Regions from separate parts of the Homo sapiens genome. Here region 1 is linked to region 2. The links are contacts of gene promoters, found by promoter capture Hi-C in human tissues and cell types (Jung and others, 2019). All regions are on one chromosome and are shown on one strand. The core of a region is centred on a gene start or on the middle of the fragment in contact, and the rest is flanking DNA. Distances in the headings are between cores, read along the strand shown. Region 1 has its middle 88 kb from the start of OR9Q1. Region 2 holds the start of OR5B21 (olfactory receptor family 5 subfamily B member 21).

Region 1 (6,064 bases), core at 2,912-5,411, 570 kb after region 2:
TGAATTATTCCTGCAGAGTTACATTCCTACAAAACTCTGCTCACTACTGTTATCTGGCTGTGTATCTCACTGCCCCGGCTATACTGCAGACTCCCTGTGGCAGGAATCAAACCTCATCCTTCATTGTATCTACCCCTGAGACGAGCACTGTGCGCAGTACTATACTTAATCAGAGGGTAAGGAATGTGTGTGTGTGTATATATATATATGTGTGTGTGTGTGTGTGTGTGTGTATACATATATATATGCACATATTTCACTTCTTCCTTTTTGAATTTTAGGCTTCCAGGCAACAGATGATAAAAAGGATAGCAGTTGTTTTTATTCTATAAGGCTCAGGGCCTCAATCAAACACTATTCCTTCCTGAAAAATTTGCTTTCTCAATAATGATAATGAATAGCTAATATTTAATGAGCATGTGTTATATGCCAGGAATTCTGTGAAGCACATCGTACATACCATTTCATTTAACTCTCACAATAATTCTATGACTAGGTTACATCTATTTCACATATAAGGAAACTGAGAGTCCAATAAATTAACTGGACTGTGATATACAGTTCATAACTGGTAGCCAGGTCCAGCTGATTTCAAAGTCCGTACTTTCCTATAGTGCCTAAAACCTCTTGAGGTTTTGCAGAAAATTCCATAACAAGTCTACATTTCTACTGTCTTCAAAAAAACCCAAAGTGCTGCTCTCATATTTTCCACTGGGGCCCAGCTTTCTATTAATCCCAGAGAGTCCTGACTCCCACCAGTAATTTTCACTTTCTACACAACACCTGAAGAACAACTTGGAACAGGAAAAAAAGAAATGGGCTAGAAGAAACAAAAAGAATTAGAAAATGAAAGGAGGGCCCCCAGTGCTACTGCCTTGGCCCTACCCCTCTGGCCACCGAAGAGCCTGAATTCCCTAAACCACTTACCTCCTTCTCAGCTCCTTCCTGAGTCCTATCTTAATGCCAGCAAGGAGTTTTCTTTGTGAGTCACAACGAGAAAGGAGGCCACTTCTTTAAACAAGGTTTCAAGAGTGGGCAATCAGTGATTTATTGATTGAATTAAAAATTCGGGACTAGGGCTGGGAGCTGTGGCTCCTGCCTGTAGTTTCAGTACTTTGGAGGCAGAGACTAATGGATAGCTTGAGGCGAAGAATTCGAGACCAGCCTGGGCTACATGGCAAAACCCTATCTCTACAAAACAATACAAAAAAAAAAATTAGCCAGGCACACTGGCGCACAATTGTGGTGCCAGCTATTCTGGAGGTAGAAGTGGTAGGATCATGCCGGGCACGGTGGCTCATGCCTGTAATAGCAGCACTTTGGGAGGCCAAGGCAGGTGGATCACTTGAGGTCAGGAGTTCAAGACCAGCCTGGCCAACATGGTGAAACCTGGCCTCTACCAAACAATACAAAAATTAGCTGGGTGTGGTGTCTGTTCCCTGTAGTTCCAGCTACTTGGGAGGCTGAGGTGGGAGAATCGCTTGAACCCAGGAGGTGGAGGTTGCAGTGTCGCCATTGTACTCCACCCAGGGCGACAGTATGAGACCCTGTCTCAAAAAAAAGAAGAAGAAGTAGTGGGAGGATCACTTGAGGCTGGGGAGATGGAGTCTGCAGTGAGCCGAGTTTAGACCACTGCCCTCCAACTTGGGTAACAGAGCAAGACTCTGTTTCAAAAAAAAAAAAAAAAAAAATAGGGGCTCGGAGAAGAAATGATGTTGCTTGAAGTATCCAACTTGAACATTGTCCCCAAAATCAGAAAGAGATTTGTCCCAGAACCTCAATTTTTCCTTGTGCAAAATGAGGAAGTTAGAAAAGCTGATCTATGTAGGATGCCTTTTCAGACTGACATTGACATACTATATGAACCCTCTTAGGAGTATCAGTGACCCTATATACTGATGAGCTAAACTACATTCATAAAGGCAACTCTAATCATCACCATTAGAGAAATAAAGATGGCCCAAAAAGGAAACAAAATGCCCTCAGGAAAAAAAAAAATGGGATGTAAAATGCCCTCAAGTAACCCTGGGGAAAGAGTAGATTGACAGCTGGTAGCTCTTCAAAACACCACCAGAAAACCTATTGACCAGCAAAAGCTACATTGATTAGACCTACTGTAGAAAGAAAAAATATCACCTGGATGAAATCCCAGTATTTTCTCAAAAGTCCTATATTTATAGGACTTGGGGGTCTTGACTCAAGTGATACAAGGTCACTCTTTCAAGGTAGGTAACAGGATTGGACAAAGTTTGTGACATTATAGTTTAGGATTGACAGGCACAGGAAGGGAAGTGCCTGGAAGCAAATATTAATAAAAAACCATTGTTTGTTGAGCAAATTGTTTGTCCAGATGAGTAATCTATTGTCCTGATAGGAGAGCTGTTGGCCCAGAGGAGTAAACTATTTGTTCGTATAAATTGTTCAGATAAAAGCCAACAGTGATTTATTGGTTTACAGCCATATCTTCCCAGGCCTTAATTTCCTGTAACAATTAGTTAAGTCATATTGCCACAGTAAGTCTCAGTTATCAGTCCCAATAGTTAAGGTATGTGGACATAGATGACCTCAATTCTCAAGTTCATTTTATCATTTCTAAAAACCACTATACTGTTCCTATGGAAACAAACTTCTGTTCCTCTCACTAGTGACACTCTGCCTGGTTATAATCCTGAATATTTCTACAACTCTGTCCCACAGAGTGAGCAACAGGGAAATCATTTCAGCTGGAGAAGAGTTCACTGCCATAGATAGAGAACCTATCCATGCCCCGAATGGTTCAGGAATAATCAGTGCTATGGTCTGAATGTGTCCCCCAAAAAGCATGTGTTGGAAATTGAATCCGCAATGCAACAATGTCGGGAGGAGGGGACTAACAGGAGGTGTTTATGTTCCACCCTCATGAATGAATTAATACCAGTTATGAAAGGGTTAGAGGCCATGAGTTTGATCTCTTGCTCTCCCTCCTGCTCTCTCTCACCACATGTCATGACTCAGCAAGAGGGTCCTCACTTGATGTGGTCCCCTGGACCTTGGACTTCCCAACCTCCAGAAATGTGAAAAATAAATTTCTTTCCTTTATAAATGTCCAAAGGTTGATATTCTGTTTAACAATGCAAAATGGACTAAGACGGTCAGTATCCCCCAAAAATGATACAAAACATCCAGTAGAACTGAGAACAGTAATAAACTACTATGGTAATGTCAAGAAATTTTAGGATTTTTTTAAATTTAGTCAAGACCAGGTCTGCAGCCCCAGATTTCACTGGCTGTGTATAACTTTTGACAAGCACCTTCCCCTCTCTGGGCCTCTTTTCCCACTCCCAGACATTTTGAGCTAGATGTTCCTCAAGAGTTATTCCAACTCCAGCTTTCTGGGTTATTTGACTTCACCCCACCAATGTAAATCTAGCCCTTATCAAAAAGATGCAAAGATGCCAGGCACGGAGGCTCATGCCTGTAATCCCAGCATTTTGGGAGACTGAGGCAGGTGGATCACCTGAGGTCAGGAGTTCGAGACCAGCCCGACCAATATAGTGAAACCCCATCTCTACTAAAAATACAAAAATCAGCTGGGTGTGGTGGCATGCACCTGTAGTCCCAGCTACTCAGGAGGCTGAGACAGGAAAATCACTTGAACCCAGGAGGCAGAGGTTGCAGTGAGCCGAGATCATGCCACTGCACTCCAGCCTGGGTGACAGAGCGAGACTGTCTCAAACAAACAAAAAAAAAATTGCAAAGACAATAAAGGACATCCATTTGGCTGCTGATGTAGCCTTTAGATGGGTTTTCCTTTTTCCTTCAAGAGCCTGTCATCTAAGATCATGGACCCACACTACTCAGAATAGAATGATCACAATGCCATACACAAGCAAGCTCTAAAAGCTCATAGCATATTGTCTTTCCCGTCTACCACAAATGCACTGCCCTTTGGTTCTGCATCTTTCTATTTCCTAGAGGATCCTGCCAGTAAAATGTTGATGGTAAAACATCAACATTTCACTTCCAAGTGAGCTTTTCATGAAAGATTTGCTGGCCAGTATACCCAAGGGAAAAGAAAATAACTACCCCCTAATGACAGACAGGTGTGTTGACTGCCTATGCTTGCTTACTAACGATTAAGTTTGTTTGGAAGAACTTGTAAGCTGGGAAGATTGTGATCCAAGACTTTCATGGCAACATAACAACTATCTATCGGGTTTGCAAGAATGGGTTCATATAGGACCTGCCACTAACAACTAGAACCTTCTCATATTTAAAAACAAAATGACTGCCATAGGTCAATTAGCTAGATGCAGACTCAGTAAGTGCAAGGAAGCTGTTCCACAGGGGAGACAGGAAGGACTCTAACTGACAGGCATAGACAATCTGATAGTCACGATAGAGCTGGTGTCATAATTTAAAAAAGAAGTTTGTCTTTGAAGAATACTTCAGGCAACGGAGGCCGCTGTATTAAAAAACAACACCCAAATCTCATTGCCTTGCAGTAGCAAAAAAGTTTATTTCTTGCTCATGTTAATGTCCATCCATAAGTCAGTGATGAACTTTCTGCTTTTCACTCCAAGACTCAAAAGGATGTAAGAGAATACCTATGCCTTGGACTTCACTGGTGTCAAAGCAGAAGGGAAAGAAGGGAAGTGGGGAACCAGAGGTTGGCTCCTAAGGCTTCAATACTCAGAAGTGGCACAAATTACTTCCATTCATACTCCCTGAGCCAAACCCAATCATGTGGCCAAGCTTAATTTAAATGAAGAAAGAGACTGTATAACCCTTCTTATCCAAGAGCTGCAGGGAGGAACATTGACTCTTAGGCATCATCATAAACTCTACCACAAAAAGGCTGAAAGGTTGTTGCATGTTCATGAGAAGACAATTGACACAATGAAGGGGCCAATTTTTTTGGGAACCAGACAACTTGTACAGGTTGGAATGCAGTGAGGAAGGTCGGAGGACACAGCACTGCTTTACCTCTCCAGGTGAGATTCCGCGGGTCTTTCCCAAGTGAATACCTCTTACCTGCAGGAAACATGGGCAATCCAGTCCCTCTTCTGTTGAGACTTCCTCCCAGATCAGTAGTGTAGGGACTGCATCTCTTTTACACAAACAAGTTATTTGCCTAACAAGGCCCTTTTCTTTGCCTGGTGATTTTCCCTAGGGCTGTGAACACCCAAAGTGCCAGGATCCCAAGGAGAGAACAGTCTCTTCCTACCTACCTGGGAAAAGCAGTCTGTCTACATCATGTTCTCACTGGACTTGGCACTCCAGGCCCCATACCTCCTCTCAGGAGGTGTCTATCAGAGAGCTATCCATAACAGTGAAAAGTTGGAAATACCTTATTGTCAATCGATGGGGACCAGTTAAGTAAATAATGATACACATACAACAATAAAATAATATGCATCCATTAAATATGATGATGTAGGCTACTATTTATTGATATGGGAAAATGTTCATGACATCTTGCTGAGTGAGAAGGTCAATGGCAGAATAGCTTGTATAGTATGAATCTGTGTATGGAAAATTACAGTCATGAACACACTGAGATATTTATGTCTAAAGTAACAATAATCGACTCCCATTATCTGTGGTGGTGGGATTTCAGGTGACATTTTACTTCCTTTTTGGTTCTCTTCCATCTTCTTTAATTTTTTTTTTACAACTAGCATGTGTTACTTTTACAAAGACAATAGAGCTATTTGGAGAGGATGGGAAATGATTTTTTTGAGATGGAGAGATGCGTTTTCAATATTGTTAAGTGAATGAAGCAATTATGGTATAATCATGTGTGTGTGTGTGTGTGTGTGTGTGTGTGTGTGTATACACACAGATATCTCCAAAAAAATACTACCAAGCACGTTTCCCAGGGACATTCAGATGATCAAAGAAAATAACATTTGAGAGCTCCACACCTATGTGTTCAAATACACACAAGTATTGATGATTGACATCACCAGCATTTTCAATCACTTTCTGCGAGACCTGGAGATTATGTTGACATGTGTCCCTGTGTACCACTTGGTCTGCAGAGCCTTTTGAGGTTCATTAAACTGAAAATAGAAGCCCATAA
Region 2 (5,897 bases), core at 1,472-3,971:
CCCAGGCTTGGTGCTGGGTAAATGAGGCCTTTTCTCTCTGCACTGACTCCAGATTTCTCCTTGCTGCTCTGGATCTCAACACATTTATTAACAGAGACTGCAATGCATAAACGGAAGGGTTGCCCATTAACGGAACACAGAAAGTACCTTGAATATTAATTGCCGGTAGAGGAACATGGCAGTCAGGGACAGTTCAATATGGCGGGGGCGGGGGGGTGGGTGTAATGGCTTTTAAAAACTGAACGTACAGCTTAAGTGAATAGACTCCTGTGGTCAATATTAACCAAGGAGATTGATCTAATAAGCATTTCAGAAGGTATTTTGGAAAATAATTCAGAATCCACCCTAAGTCAGCTGCATTTTATTCTTGGAATTTTTCCAGGTTTTCATCCTACCTTGTGTCTAGGAAAAGGTTGGTTTACAATATGGGAGGACTGGTATCTCTTTGGTCAAAGGACCACGTACTTAGCAAGCAGTTATCCCTTCCTGGGATCCCTCTACCAATAAGCAGCAATATTTGGCCAGAGTTCTAGACTTTAAACCAGTCACTTCACCTCACTGAGCCTCGGTTTCTTCATGTCTATATCTGCTATCTCTCTCTCTCTCTATCTAGTCATGCAATAATTAAATTAAGAAGTGAATGCAAAAAGAGTTTTATAAACTTTAGAACCACTGTTTTTTAAAAGCTCTAGAACAGTGGTTCTCAATCAGGGGAATGTTACCCTTCAGGGGACATTTGGCCACGTCTGGAGACATTTTTGACTGTTACAAATGGGAGGTGGTGGTGTTACTGGAATCTAGTGATTAGAGAGAGGCCAGGGAAACTGCTGAATATCTTACAATGCACAGGACAGCACTCCCTCTCCCCCACCACACCCTGCACCAAAGAACTGTCCAGCTCATAATGTCAGTAGTGCTGAGGCTGAAAAACCAGGCTCTGGAATTGTACAGATTTTACAGTTAAGCAGTTATGTGACCTTGAGGGGCACCACATCCTTCTGTTTCCAAATATGTAAGATCAGAACACTGCCTGTCATAGATTACAGGATATTGTGTTTGCTAAATTTGAGAGTATACACACATGTCAAAAGTCAAAAGAAAAACAAGTTAAAAAAGGCTGGATAAATATAATAGAAAGTGATGCTGGTCAGAAAGTCAATTAGTACATTACTGGATAGTAATGTACCAAGCTGACTGAGCCAGTTCTTATGAAACTAGCCACATCGTGTGTGTGTGATGGTCATCCAAAAAGGACAAGCTACACTATCCCCTTCTTTTTGTGTCACCAATCAAATTGCTGCTGTTACTCTTCAAGGTAAGCTAAAGTCCAGCAGAGCTGAAGCATTTTTCTCCTTTAATTCCTGTTTTCTCCTTTTTCCTCCTCTCTTCTCACATTTTCTCCCTCACTTCTTCTGAGTCTGCTCCCACTCACTCTGCTACTAGGAGTGGGGAAAGCCTGTGAACACCTCAGGTTGAGGAACAAAAATAGGAGAGAAAGAATGCTCTAAAATGAGGACAGAAACCTGTCTCCAGGCCTGACCATCTGCAAACTCACTGTTACTCCTGAATATTTTTCATATGACAAGTCTAAGCTAATATTTTGGCCCAAAGCACAAACCTGGTAGACAAGAGGATGATAGGATGTTTGTTGTGGGATTAAAGAGCATGAAAAATATTTCCATACTTTCCTATTGATGTTCTGTTTGATTCACCAAATATTTACATACATGTGTGAGGGGCCATGGTAAGGAGAGTGGACCAGAGGGGATGAAGATAGTTACTGTCCCAAGGGGCTTAGAGCTAGGTGAAGAGTGAGTGGTTGCCCAGCTAATTGTGCAATAATCAGCCAAGACTCAAGTGCTTTGAGGAGGGAGAGAAAGGAGGACTTAACTGGAATTAGGGTCTACAGCAAAGACTTCTGATAAGGGGTGAAAAAAGACATATGCATATACACAGATACACAAAGCCATTTGTATATATCAAATTTATAGTTTTATATTAAATATATATAAATACATACTCATATTTACATATACCATACTCCCTTTCAGTTGAACTACTGTTGAGGGATTAATTTATAAAGGCTTCAAAAGTTGTGGTTAAGATCTTTGGATTTAGTATCAAACAGACCTTGAGGGCACCACCTTGTCCTGCCAACACCTTGATTTTGGCCCAGTGAAACTGATTTGAGGCTTCTGGCCTCCAGAATTTTGAGAGAATAAACTTGTGTTGTTTTAAGGAAAAATAAATTTAGAAAATCTTTAGTGAGGCTATATTATTGGAAGTAGAATGTGGAAGACAATAAGTGATGGATGTTTTTATTTTTAATAATTAAATACATACAATCTTATATCCACATCATAATTTGTATTTATATGATGTAAATGTGTTAAAGAATTCAAGATGAATGTATGAACTTTAGATTCAGAAATATAAAGGGGTGAACTTTGATTCTGACCCCTAGATAGGCTATCTTGCTCAATATTCAGCTCCCTGAGCCTTAACTTCCTTATCTGTAAGATGGGCATAATAGCACCTATCTCATATGAATTAAAAGCTATAATATAACAGAGGGTTCTAGGATGAGTGTTACACACAGTACATTCTCTCTATACATTAGTTTTCTCCTTTTTTATCATTCCATCCTCCCTTCTCATACTTTCATTGGAATTTTGTTGACGCCTCTTCTTTAATCACCAGGCTAATTCAAGCTGGCCACAATGGAGAATAGCACAGAAGTGACAGAGTTTATCCTCTTGGGATTAACAGATGACCCCAATCTTCAGATACCCCTCCTCCTGGCATTTTTATTCATCTACCTCATCACCCTGCTTGGGAATGGGGGAATGATGGTGATCATCCACTCAGACTCCCATCTCCACACTCCAATGTACTTTTTCCTCAGTAACCTCTCCCTTGTAGACTTGGGTTACTCATCAGCTGTAGCCCCCAAAACGGTGGCTGCATTGCGGTCAGGGGACAAGGCCATCTCCTACGATGGATGTGCAGCTCAGTTCTTCTTCTTTGTGGGGTTTGCCACTGTTGAGTGCTACCTCCTGGCCTCCATGGCCTATGATCGCCATGCAGCGGTATGTAGGCCTCTTCATTACACCACCACCATGACAGCAGGTGTGTGTGCCCTCCTTGCTACTGGTTCCTATGTCTCTGGCTTCCTCAATGCCTCTATCCATGCAGCAGGCACCTTCAGACTCTCCTTCTGTGGTTCTAATGAGATTAATCATTTCTTCTGTGACATTCCCCCACTCCTGGCTCTCTCATGCTCTGACACACGCATCAGCAAGTTGGTGGTCTTTGTGGCAGGCTTCAACGTCTTTTTCACCCTCCTGGTCATCCTTATTTCTTACTTCTTCATATGCATCACCATTCAGAGGATGCATTCTGCTGAAGGGCAGAAGAAAGTCTTCTCCACCTGTGCTTCCCATCTCACTGCTTTGTCCATCTTCTATGGCACAATCATCTTCATGTACTTACAGCCCAACTCCAGCCAGTCCGTGGACACAGACAAAATAGCCTCTGTGTTTTACACAGTGGTGATTCCCATGCTGAATCCCTTGATATACAGCCTTAGGAACAAAGAAGTGAAAAGTGCTCTCTGGAAAATACTCAACAAACTTTACCCCCAATATTAAATGTGAATGGGAAGTAGGCAAGCAATTAAGGGATAAACTTTCTCTCACACCTAAATGCCATCATGACTTTTAACGTTTGACTGGTTTCAGTTCTTTCTTCCCCAAGAACAGCGGTTACTTCTGCTATTAGAAGATGTAAAAAGCAGCACGTTGAAAGTCTTACTTAGAAAGATAATCTTATATTTAGTGAACAACAACATGGGACAGTTAAGCTTTTCTTGCTTTAGTTTCTTGACGTGGTTTAAAGCAGAAGATTGAAGCATACAAATGAATGTACCAAATTTTCCTCATCCTGTTTTTAATTGTAAGAATTTTTCATTCACTATTAAACTTGGTGTAAAGATTTCACCTTCATTTTTATCAACTGAACACACAGTATCTTTTTTATTCTTTTGTTCTGCGAGTTTGAAAGTTGGACTTTCTGAGGTAGACAAAGGATGTTTCAATATTTTAAATGATATTTGAGAGAAAGTTGTAATTTAAAGGACAAGGCACTAGATCGAGTCAGGTAGCTGACGATTAAATCTTTCCAACCCCTTACTCTCCCTTCTCTACCCACATTCCTATCCTACTCACTAGTCATGTGCCTTTGTAATTTCCATTCCCTTTTGCTAAATCATTGGGGAAACATTACACCTTGTTATATACAGAAATATGGGAATGCTTTAATAGATGAATTACTTCAACTTTAACCTGACTAAATACAACTTCCTTCGGAGAGCCTACACTATCTTTTATGTTTCTTGTCTCTGTCTAACATAATTACCAAAACTTCCAGAAGGTTTAGAGAAAAAAAGCAGTTTTCCCTAGAGCTATGAAAAAATATATTTGTTTTCTGAATTAAATGCTTGCATTTCTTAGCACCCTTAAGTTTGGTGAATCTATTATGAAGATATATAATAGCTTTCTGGACTGTCTTTGCTTTTACTTTTTCAATAATTCAGCTCACCTCTGGGTCTCCATTGCATTCCGGTGTTCTGTAATTAGATGCTACAAGAATAAAAAAGCCTGCCTGGAAATTTACTTCTTAGGAACAGCACGGTGACGCACAGTGCTAGTACACCTTCAGGTCTTGTTTCATGTGCTAGATGGTGTGAGCAAATGTGTGTGTGTGGGAAGGGAGTGGTGATTAATTTCACTTCTCACGTATCAACTCCTTGATGGTGTTTATAACTACAGTTAATCTAAGTCACCACAATAGATCATGATTTCAAAATCTCCCCAAAAAACCCAACAAATTAATTTTGACCTTATAGATGAAAACCAGAAATCTTGGTTGGCTAACTCAGTTGGCTTAAAATGTCAATTTAGTTTTCAGATTATCAAGCTCCATTATGTACAGGGCAGCCTCTGTCTGAGGAGGATAAATCATAAGTCTTCTGGGAAAAATTGCAAAGAAGGAGTTATGGAACATGAGAAACATGAGAATAGCTTTCTCTGGCACATGGTTGCCATCACCTGAAAAGATCAGGAGCTTCTGAGCCCAAGGCCTAGACAACCTATACCTCCCCCATTCAGCCCCCTCCCTCCCCTCTTCTTTAGCAATGAGGCCTATTCAGCAACACACAGGAAGAACAGCCTTTACAGGCCAGGATCCACTGCATATAGGAATCTTTCTCATTGAAATCTACAGAGCTCAAGAGTATCTGCATTTGGAGAAGAGCCTGGGAAGCAGCTATCCAAGCACTGGGTGCATTCCAATCTCAGGTACACATTTTCCCTACTTGATATAATTGACTTTTTTCCCTCCTCATCCTGCTCCTCCTTCTTTACTTCATTTTATCCTTCTCCTCTTTTTCTTTCCCAACTTCTTTCTATGCCCAGCCCAAGCAGGAACTTTCCTCACCACTAGGCCATTTAGATTTCTATAAAAAAATTAAAGTCTAGAGTCTATATATCATAACCATTACAGTATATATTAAGATGTGTATCTGGGCATGTTTATTTCTTTTATGGTTTTAATTTTTATTTCATTAGTTTTGGGGGTACAGGTTGTTTTTGGTTACATGGATAAGTCCTTTAGTGGTGGTTTCTGAGATTTTAATGTGCCCATCACCCGAGCAGTGTGCCCAATATATAGTCTTTTATTCCTCACCTCCCTCCCAACCTTCCCCCATCGAGACCCCAAAGTCCATTTTATCATTCTTATGGACATATTTTGTTATGCCTCTATACCTCAGTTTAGGCAGGAAAATGTGGGCCTCCTGAGATTTAAGGGCTCAATGTCTACATATTTATATTTTATGT

The links. The method cuts DNA at HindIII sites, captures the fragments that hold promoters and counts their contacts. A contact is called where the count stands out against the background at its distance.
Region 1: a contact is called between a fragment that was not itself captured here and the fragment with the promoter of OR5B21 in region 2, in 1 of the 25 tissues and cell types used here (H1 embryonic stem cells).

The regions. Positions count from the first base shown.
Region 1 is chr11:57,932,488-57,938,551 of GRCh38, reverse strand. No RefSeq gene overlaps it. Among named protein-coding and RNA genes, the nearest start is that of OR9Q1, 88 kb to the left of the region's middle. The HindIII fragment of the contact is 6,478 bases long and covers 923-6,064 here.
Region 2 is chr11:58,504,929-58,510,825 of GRCh38, reverse strand. It overlaps OR5B21 (olfactory receptor family 5 subfamily B member 21), which reads left to right and starts at 2,721. Exons shown (of 1, transcript NM_001005218.3): 1 at 2,721-4,019. The coding sequence starts at 2,721. The coding sequence ends at 3,650. LOC105369313 (a long non-coding RNA gene) reads left to right here. Exons shown (of 5, transcript XR_007062673.1): 3 at 5,284-5,357. The HindIII fragment of the contact is 9,451 bases long and covers 1-5,447 here.